3 separate regions of the Homo sapiens genome follow, and regions 2 and 3 are each linked to region 1. The links are contacts of gene promoters, found by promoter capture Hi-C in blood cells and fetal thymus (Javierre and others, 2016). All regions are on one chromosome and are shown on one strand. The core of a region is centred on a gene start or on the middle of the fragment in contact, and the rest is flanking DNA. Distances in the headings are between cores, read along the strand shown.

Region 1 (3,552 bases), core at 481-2,980:
GGTGCCTGTAGTCCCAGCTACTCGGGAGGATGAGGCAGGAGAATTGCTTGTACCCGGGAGGTGGAGATTGCGTGACCCGAGATTGTGCCACTGCACTCCAGCCTGGGCTTCAGAGTGAGACTCTGTCTTCCCCCAACAACAACAACAACAAAAAATCTAGTAAGGTTACTTTCTGACTGTCCCTGCCTTTCCGTGGTCACAAAGGAGTTCTGACTTACCTCACCTGAAACTAGGTCATAAAACCCTCATTCTAGAGAGTTCCTGCCCCATACTCTGAGGCCAAGAATTTGAATGAACTGGCCTTGCTAGCTAGGATCCCCCCTCAGTTTATTATCATTAGATGATGCCCCCTTTCAATCATGTTTCTCCACAACTATCCACTCCTTTCATCAGACTTAGCATAAAAAGCCCATTTTTTCCTGGGTCTTTGTGTCTTCATTTCTGAAGACTCCTCTGTCACATAAAACTGTGTTAAATGAATTTATTATCCCTTTTCTTGTTAATTTTTATTATTTATTTTTTGAGACAAAGTCTCGCTTTGTCACCCAGACTGGAGTGCAGTGGCACAAACATGGCTCACTGCAGCCTCGACCTCCCAGGCTCAAGCAACCCTCTCACTTCAGCCCAGAATAGTTTGGGACTACAGGCGCCCATCACCACACCCGACTAATTTTTGTTTTTTGTTTGTTTGGTTGGTTTTTTTTGTAGCGACAGCGTCTCACTATGTTACCCAGGCTGGTCTCCAACTCCTGGGCATAAGCAATCCGCCTGCCTCGGCCTTCCAAAATGTTGGGATTACAGGCATGAGCCACCTGCGCCTGGCTTCTCTTAATTTTTTTCATAGGAATGTCAGCTGTGAACCTTGTGATAAGTGAGGACAAGATATTTTTCTTGCCCTTACAATGCCAAACAATGGACTAAGCGTTCTATTATACACATACGGTACTCAAACTGATGTTTTGCCCTGTTGCCATTATAAGTAAACACTTGCATTACAGTAAATAGCCAGAAACAAAGCTGCAACACTTCCTGTAAACGCTACTATAGCCGCACTCCACAGGATTTTTTAATATGTTCTATATTATTCAGTTAAGTAGATATTCTCATTTCCATTGTGATTTCTTCATCAGCCCTTGAAATATTTGGTGTATTGCTCCTATTCCAGACGTGGAGACTTTTAGTTTTCTTGTTACTCTAGTTTAATTCTACTGTGATCAGAGAACATAACGCTGAAAGGGGTCGGAGTTTTGAATGCACGGGGGCTTTCCTTTATGGCTCAGGATGTGCTCGATGCTGGTGTATGTTCCACGTGCATCAGGTTTCCTCTCTTTCCAATTATCGTGCTAAGAGCTGACTTCAGCTTAGAAATCCTCAAAGTCCCTTCTGACACTAAGTGTGTGTAATTCCAAGCATAAACTAAACGGTAATTACCTCGAACTTTTCTTCCTGTTAACTCTTTTCCTCTTGATTTTTCAAAATGCAGCAACTATTACTTCTAATAAAAAAACAGAAAAAGAAAAAAAATCCACTTGTATTCGCCTGTAGCTCTGTGCTTTCGGCTCTTCTCATATGCAAACGAAGACCCCAGGCGCCGCCAAAACACAGCGTGAGAGACGCCCGGGAGCCCGGGCCGCCGCCAGCGCACGCTCGAGCACACCCGGGCGCGCCCCAGCACCCTGCCCCTCCCAGCTAGGGCTGAGGGGCGGGGCCGCCGCGGCGCGCTGACGTCAGAGGAGGCTGCGACGCTGCCGGGTCCGCCGCGGCGCTGGCGGCAGTGGCCGGTGTGAGCGCAGAGCCGGGCCCTGGGCAGCAGCGGCAGCGCGGTAGGACCTCGCGCAGCGTCCGCGGGCTCCGGGGCGGGGGCGCCAGCGGCGAAGCCCCCTCCCCGGGGAGGCGGGACCTGGGGGAGCTCCCGAGCCGGGGAGCGGCGGCGGCCGGGAACGATGCATCAGAAGCTGCTGAAGAGCGCGCATTACATCGAGCTGGGCAGCTACCAGTACTGGCCGGTCCTGGTGCCCCGTGGCATCCGCCTGTACACCTACGAGCAGATCCCCGGGTCCCTCAAGGACAACCCGTACATCACCGACGGCTACCGGGCCTACCTGCCGTCCAGGCTGTGTATCAAAAGGTACGGTCTGGCTGCCTCCGCCTGGAGTGCCCCCTTCTCTCACCTACACCCTTTTTGTCTGGTCCCCCTTCTGCTTTCCCCGCCTTTCTGCTTGCCCATCATTTCCTCGCCGCCCCATCCTTTTCATCCCTTTTTGCCGCCTCTCCTCCCCCGTTATCTCCCCTTACCTGGCCGGGGTACTTGGTCCACGGAATAATCATGATAGTAACAGTGATCATAATTACAGCTCTCCTATGACGCTTTGCTCTTTACAAAGGGCTTTTACATCCTTTATTCGGTTTGTTCGGCTCATTGAGATATATATTGAAATGGGGCTGAGCCATATTTGCCCGGTGTATACCTTTCTTTTTAGAGCAACACTGTGGGAATTCAGTAGCTTTGGGCCAGATAAGTGCCTGTATAATAGGAAACAAGTTAACATATACACCCGAGATTTATTCATTTGGCAAATACTTATGGAGCCCATGCAGAAAAAAAAGCAAACATGGCCCTTGTTTTCATGAAGCTACTAAGGTGTAGCCTGGGTAACAGACATTAAATAGATAATTACACAATTACATAATAACCATTGTGGAAAAAATGCTGTGTAGGAAAAGTACTGTGGTAAAGAGAGCTCATAACGGGCACCCAGTCTCCACTAGAGCACCACAGAAGCATCTCTAAGAAAGAAATTTCTTTATCATTTTAAACCTTTAAAACCACAGTCCCTTGAAAATCCGTGTTTTAAAAAAACAAAACTGAAAAATAACTATTCTAGTTCTTGGAGTAACTGTCCAAACTTACTACCTGTACTAAAATACAGGACCTCTGCTTCAGGAGAATTAAGATACAGGTGTTGGTTAGCTCCAGGTCGCTGTAGTGGCAAACCCTAGTGCCAGAATGTGGGCTGTTGAATTGCTCAAGCGGCAACCACATGTCTGATTCTTGATTTTTCCAGCATTGTCTTTTCCTGCCCTTCTTTCCTTTTGTCCTGCCATGAAAGTGTTTCTGTGACTCATGGTCACAAGGTGACATCACTGCCCATCCCTACTTGGCTTGAATGGATGGCCCTTAGGATTCACAACTTGAAGCGTAATTACCGTTTTCCTCCCCAGTGCCTCCTGTGCATGAGTAAATTACACAGCTGAGTTCTGCTGTGGATCTGGAGTTCCACAAGAATAGGGCAAGCAGTGAATTGCCTTAAATATTTTCTACTCAACTAGCAGTGGTCTTCTGCGTTCTGATGTTAGGGTCCAAATCTCATGGAGTGGAAAATTAAGTATAGAGCATTAGCTCTTGAGCTATTGAGTCAAAGACTTTAGTATCCAAATCTGCCACTTAACAGCTCTGAGACCTGGAGCAAAATGTAACCTCACTGAGCCTCATTATACCCACATATAAAAATGAGGGTAATCACAGTATCTGCTTCCAGAGGTAAAAAAAGA
Region 2 (3,552 bases), core at 554-3,053, 1.1 Mb before region 1:
ACTGGCCTGTAACTAGGTGGTCCAGAGAGGGAAATTACCTCAGGTACAGCTGGATCCAAGGAATCAATCATGTTGTCAGGGTCTTCTCTCTCAGTAAGTTTTGCCTATGTTTCTATTTGCCTCATTCCTTGTTTAGATGAATGGTGGTGAACTGTAATTGCAAAAGGAGGCTTACATGGTCCTCAGCAAGTATATTGGAAAGTGAGGGGTGTTGTCTTTGCATCAGTGTATAGGGTCCCAGATAAGAACTCTAATTGATTCGGTTGAGTCATGAGCTCATTCCTGTACCAATTCTGTTGGGGGCAAGGGAGAGAGGGAGAAGAAGGCACTGTGATTCACAGCCTCACTAGGACCACATGGAGTGGAAAAGAGTTTCCCAAATAGAAAGGAGCACTATTCATAGAAGTGTAAGGGTGCAAAAGTGTCCAGGGTAGGAACAAAAAAATCAGTAGTGATGACAGCTCACTATATTCAAATACATTTAAAATATTTTGACATATATTCTAAGAAGACACCCCATTCCTCCGAAATCCCACTTGATAATAAACATAGAAAGTTTCCTTTAAATTATTCATTTTATTAACTGATCTTATTTTGGCCTCTACTGTCCAAAGCTGTATTTGTATTTGCATGAAAATATTCCCTAATAATATTATTATTTTCTTTTTTTTAAAAAAAATTTGGTTGGGATTGTAGTTTAAGAAAATTAAATCCACTTTGAATAAATAAGTACAGCTTTGTGATAGTTTGTGAGAAAACTAAACTAAACTGATGACATTTGGTTACACAGATAAAATGAAATTCCAAATTTTAATTTCTTAACATTAACCTGTTGGACTATAAAAGGTGTCCTACAGAGGCTTACCTGCTCTTAAAAGCAGATTTAATTGAGTGGAAGGAAATTGAACAGGTGCAGAAAATGGTTAATATTTGTCACCAAATGTACCATTTGGTGTACATTATGAGGAAAAATGTACAATTTCTCAATTATACTTCATTTTCTCCAAATATAATAATTCTCAGTTGATTCAGAAGCATTTGTTGGGTACTGGGCTGTGTTCAAGACACTTTGCTGTGTTTTGTATTACCAAAATGGGTATGGTCCCCAAACTCTTCAGAGCTTACAATTTTTAGGATGTGTATTTGGAAAATTAATAGAAGAATTAGTAAGATATTTTTTCTATTATTGTTGCATAGGGAAACATTTCATTTGCCATCCTGGATTTCTGAAAAATCAAATGGAATAAATATAGACTAAGACTGCTTGGCAGATATACTTCATGTCTTAGTAAAACAAGAAAGTGGGCAAATAAGGCTAATACAAAATAATGTTTGCATCAGAGTGAAAATTATACCATGAACAAGTTTCTTCAAATTCTGAAATAGTCTATTTATTATTATTTTATCTCATAAGTTCAAGGCAGTTTTTATAGGAAGCTTATTTATTTTCTAAGCTAGCATTAAATGATTATTTTGAGTTTGTGGTGACCAAAGACAACAACGACAACAGCAAAACCAAAAAGTAGTGGCAGATAAACTTGTTTCCAATCACAAACTATGCATTTTTGGAATTTTTTCTATATTGTAATGAAACAGCAAGACTGCTAATATGATTTATTTTAAATATCAGAATTGTGAGATGTGGAAGAAACTAAAGTTTTAAAAAAGATTTATTATATGAGAGTATGTTCATCAACAATGTAATCAGAACTATCCATCTGTTTTGTTTGGAGCTCAGAAGACTAAAAGACAATGAGTATGATTTACCTTCTTCCACAGTTCTCTTAGGGTAAAAGTTTGTTTAGAAATTTGTCATGTGTGCTTTTATTCCTTGCTTACTTGCAAGACAGAAGAGAATCCATATTTAGAAACTAGTCAGAGTGGTGTGTGCTGTATTGAGCAACTGATATTTTGAAGCTCTAAGCATTTTTAAGGAATGAACTCAACCAAAACATGTGATTATAAAATAGCAATTGTTCTTAGTTGAAGTATTACCCCTTAGAGAAAAATATATTTGGCTGGGGTGTTTGGAAGCCATAGAAAAAATAAAAATCACACATCTGAATATTAAAAGGTGAAAAGGAAACAAGACAAGAGGATGAGAAACACCTTTCCAGTTGTTTTTGCTGCTTATGTTATGCAGTTGGATGTCTAATTACTAAAGCTTCATTTTGTTAGACCTTTAAAACTAATACTTTTCATATATTTTCTCCTGATTTAAACTTGAAATCTTTTTGTATTGGGGATGAATCCTTTAGTGTTTAAAGCTGCTCAATGAGTCAGGAAAAAAAAAAAAAACCTTGCTTTTTTAGACTCTACTACCCTTGCCAATATTTTCTGACATGCTGTGGGTCATGGAAATTGGCAGTTTCTATCTGTTAAGGACACACCTGGAGCACTTGTAAATTATTTGTGATGATCGGTTGCCAGTGATGTTATAGATCCAAAATCAGTGTCAAAAAATTCTTGCTGAGGTGAATATTTAGAATTTTTAATAGATTTGTAAAAATTTTGGAGAACTTTAGGTAGCACATGTGAATGTATATATGAAGAAATAATCTATTTTGGGGAGGAAAAAGCCTTATTATTTAGAGTTGATCCTAAAAAATGTTATTACAGAGGAAACCATTTAATGGGAGTTAATACCCCTTTTCTCTTTTTATATATTCTACCTAAAATAAGACTTTAAAAAGAAGATAACACATAACTTAAGTTTGTTTCTCTTCATGTTGTTTTTGTTTTTGTTTAGTTTTGCATCTGGTCCAATATGCCTTATAGGTACTATTAATTACCAAAATTTGAATTTATCCAAATAATTTTTTTCACTGTGTGTAACTGAAAATATGCTTTGATTAATTCAAATAACTTCTCAGTAAGCTCTGTATCTTTTTACATGCATAACTCTTAGTGTTATATGCTCTGTTTTTTATGTTATAGTCATAATGGCCATGCTTCTTATTAAAAAGTTTTGCATTTACTTTTTAATTAAATAGAATAAACATTCATTGAGTAGCTGCTATTCATAAGATATTGCGCTATATACTTTTTATATTAGATTGAATTTTGAATATGTGGTGTTATTCATTTTAAAAGTTTTTATTTCATTCTTCTGGAATGGACTGCATTCTGTTTTCCAGATATAGTATCCTTCCTGTTGCCACTTAGAAATTAGAAAAAAAATATGGATTTTAAAATATGTCTAGGCTTATATTAATTGTAGGAGGTGTTTTTGTTTTGGTCAAGCTGGGTGGTTGATCTTCAAGTCCTAAGGTCTAGCTCATAGATGTTTCTCTCAAATTCAACATAAACTTCAAAGACAACATAGGTCCTAAATAATATTTTGATTTTATCTCCCCATCTTAATTTATTGCATGATAAATTATTATCTTGGATCGACACCAACTACAACTCTCCACAAATCCCATATTACTTTAAATACCAGAAGAAAAGGCCATAACTATATCCATTGTGTATGTTTTTCAGGACATGATATTGCTTTTATTACCTCTTATGTGTCCTACGTTTGTTATTATAGCATGTGTCTTTTATGTA
Region 3 (3,552 bases), core at 682-3,181, 1.1 Mb before region 1:
CTACTTGTGTAAGACAGAAACTTTGAGGTCATCCTTTTTTCTTCTTCCTCACCTCCTACATCCAATAAATGTCCATGTCCTTTTTATTCTAACTCCTAATATGTCTCAGTTTTTGTTTTCACACTAACCTCATTGCCACTATTTTAGTTCAATTCTACTTTGGTACTTATTTCAAGTACACTGAGACTTTCTTAACTGGTCTTTCTACTTTTGAAATTTATTCTTCAGACCCCTGCCTTACACTGTAACAAGAATGATATTTGTAAAACACATTTCTAACTATATTTCTATCAAACTTAAAACTCTTAAGACGAATTCCAGATGTCTAAAGATGGCATCCAGGGACTCAATGATCTTTTCTCTGCTCCCCTTTTCAACCTGGAGCCATTTCATTCTTACTCTCACCCTCTTTTGTTGCTGGAGTACTGAATCACTTTTACTGCCTTGACTGTTCTGTCCCTGTCCCTTTCTTGCCTTCCACCCTGTCGGAGTGCTCCATCTGCATGGACTCCTTTCTAATCTCATTTCCTAACTTCTGATCATTCTTTAAGCTTCATCCTGTAGTCGACTTCCTGCAGGAAAACTTTGCTAATGCCTCTATGCCAAGGCCAAGTCTGTTGAATCTCCCACACAGCCCTCTAGAACCCCTGTGCCTAAACCTATTTAATATCGCATTCTTTTGTAATTGTTTACGGGGCTTCCTTTTATTTACATTGTAATTTGTATTATTTGTTACTGCAGCCATTTTACCAAGTACAGCCCAATTATCATTGCTACTACAATCAATTAATAAATACTCATTTAATTAACTAGTAATAAAATAAGTGACTGATTGAGTGATTTTATTGGCAGATATTCCTAAACCAATTTGGAGTGTGATTTTAGGCCTGAGGTTTAAGCACAGAGCTCAACATAGCTATAATGTTGGATTTAATCAAGGTCATGTTTTATAACAGGAAGAATATGGCATTGAAAAAATTTTTTACATGAAACTGCCTGACATTATATAGTAGGCATTTTTTGAACAATTTAGCTTACAATATTTTTATATGGCAGTGAGCAGAATAGAAATTAATTAAATTAAACAAAAGGTATTACATAATGATTTTATTGCTTCTATATACATTTCTTCTTAGCTTGGATCTAAAAGGTTTATTAAAAAGTACCTTGATATTCTAAATAATCCATTAGACAAATATTCAGGTGTTAACGGTAATTTATGGAGTACCTGTTGTGTCCCAGGTATTGTGTTGTATATTTTATGTATATTATTTTACCAAGCTCTGTTCCTTAAAACAACTTTGAAATAGGTACAGTTATCCCCATTTTACAGATTGAGAAATGGAAGATTAAAAATGGAGTGATGAGGGTTCAAACTCAGGACTCCAGTTTCGCCCAAATGCCCTTTTTCAATATTATTAGATCCTTGGGGCAAATAAAAATGAACTGCTCTCTTGCTTCCCATATATGTTTGCAACTAAGTAAACACAATGTTGTTTTAATACATTTTTGCCCATAAGAAAGCCTCTGTTACTGAGCGTATGGCTTCCACTGTCAGAAACATACTAACTAGAAGTAGAAGTTATGTAGGAGTAGGAATAACAATCCATAGATGCTAACAGAAATGACATAAAATATGACAGAAAACACTAAATATGTATAGTTGACTCTTGAGGCAAGGAAAGCTTACCGAATTTGGTTTGCATTACAGTGGGCGGTTTTCTCAACCTATGCCAGAAAAGGAGTAGCATAGCTTTGGGCAAAGGCTCTAGCTTAATGATGGTGCCAGTACCATACCAATAATTTCAAAAATGTTTTTCTAAAGAAGCAGCAAAGTTTAAAAGCAGATGTAACTGTGTTTTTCATATTTGCAACTTTTCTGAAAAATTTTCACAGAATACATATATCTATACACACATATTCATAAATATATATATTCACAAGTAAATATATTGCTTTAGCATATAGTAAATGCCATTCTAGTTAACCATGAGAAATATGTGAATGTAGTAAAAAGCTAGAAGATTCAAATGAAACTCATACTAATGAGAGAAATTTAAATATAAGATGCTAAAATACATGTGGAGGATTAAAGTAGTATGTTGTAGAAGTGAAAGCATTTTGAGTACAGAGTCAGTGAAGTCCAATATTTGGACAAGTTACCTTTATAAGCTTGTTTCTTCATGGGCAAAATGGAGATGATGCTAGTGCTGACCTCAGTAGGTTGTTGTGAGAATTAAATGAGAAGATGAATTAATGTGTCTGGTTCTTAGTAAGAAATCAACAATTGCCTGTAATTATGAGTGGTGTTTATGGTTACATTTTGATCACGCTGCTACTACTACTCTCAAAAGGAGGAAGATATTCTTGTTTCAGTTCCATACATCATATATCATCAAGTGGATTTCTATATCTGCGGAGAATTAACTCAGTTTTTGTTTTTTTTTTACACCAGCCACATTATACTAGAATGAGATTTTCGGAGAATGCAGTTATTTTTGTCGGTTACAAGATCATATCAGCATGCATTTCTACCATAGGAAAGAGTAAACTTTGTTTTAAAATGACATCTTCTGTTCTCATTTCATTTTTTTAAGCATTAAAAGTTTGAATGTTTCCTTCATTAATTAGAGAACTTGTTCGTTTCTGGTGAATTTTAACTGTCAGATTATAAACAACTTCAGTCAATGTCTACTGATCCCTTAAAGTTGAATCAGTAAGATTACCTGCAAGAATCACATATTATTATGAATGAAAATTATCTTTCCAAAAAATAAAACCATGCCAACATGTCAGATGATTCAGGCCACATTCTTTAAAGTAGAGGAATTAAGAACTAGGGAAGACAATTTTTTATTTGATTATGCTTAGTCATTAAAAAAACAAAACAAGGCACCCATTTCTTCAGAATGAGCAATTAGGTTTAAGTTTTCTTTCTTAATACGCCACTTGGCCTTCTGTGTTGGAATAGTTCAGAAGTATAGTTAATTAGATGTAAACATCCGGAATTCTTATTCTCTTCTGGATTTAGCTAAACCATCTTTTTTTTTTTTTTTTTTTTTTTGAGATGGAGTCTCGCTCTGTCGCCCAGGCTGGGGGTGCAGTGGTGTGATCTCGGCTCACTGCAACCTCTGCCTCCCGGGTTCAAGTGATTCTCCAGCCTCAGCCTCCCAAGTAGCTGGGATTACAGGCACGTGCCACCATGCCCGGCTAATTTTTTTGTATTTTTAGTAGAGACGGGGTTTCACCGTGTTAGCCAGGATGGTCTCAATCTCCTGACCTCGTGATCTACCCAAAGTGCTGGGATTACAGGCGTGAGCCACTGCGCCCAGCCTAGCTAAACCATCTTTTTAAACAAGATGCTTTGAAGTAAATACTTTACACAGAAATATTTTAATAGAAGTATTTCTATATTTTGATTGAATTTAGCTTGAACTTTGCCAGGAATATCCTTCCCAGTAGCTTTCTTGTATGAATCCAAACCAAATAGCACATTGAGAAAAAAAACACATTAAGGACTTTGATTTCATCATTTAATCAAGCCTCTCTGAT

The links. The method cuts DNA at HindIII sites, captures the fragments that hold promoters and counts their contacts. A CHiCAGO score of 5 or more calls a contact.
Region 2: a fragment that was not itself captured here is called in contact with the fragment with the promoter of PAQR3 in region 1 in 4 of 17 cell types (monocytes, M1 macrophages, M2 macrophages and 1 more); the score reaches 10.8 in monocytes.
Region 3: a fragment that was not itself captured here is called in contact with the fragment with the promoter of PAQR3 in region 1 in 1 of 17 cell types (M0 macrophages); the score reaches 5.4 in M0 macrophages.

Annotation. Positions count from the first base shown.
Region 1 is chr4:78,937,616-78,941,167 of GRCh38, reverse strand. It overlaps PAQR3 (progestin and adipoQ receptor family member 3), which reads left to right and starts at 1,730. Exons shown (of 6, transcript NM_001040202.2): 1 at 1,730-2,128. The coding sequence starts at 1,944. RefSeq lists silencers at 1,551-2,040, 2,131-2,200. The HindIII fragment of the contact is 16,646 bases long and covers 1-3,552 here.
Region 2 is chr4:80,044,326-80,047,877 of GRCh38, reverse strand. The region is part of intron 7 of ANTXR2 (ANTXR cell adhesion molecule 2); the gene reads left to right. Among named protein-coding and RNA genes, the nearest start is that of ANTXR2, 27 kb to the left of the region's middle. The HindIII fragment of the contact is 727 bases long and covers 1,440-2,166 here.
Region 3 is chr4:80,020,662-80,024,213 of GRCh38, reverse strand. The region is part of intron 10 of ANTXR2 (ANTXR cell adhesion molecule 2); the gene reads left to right. Among named protein-coding and RNA genes, the nearest start is that of ANTXR2, 51 kb to the left of the region's middle. The HindIII fragment of the contact is 487 bases long and covers 1,688-2,174 here.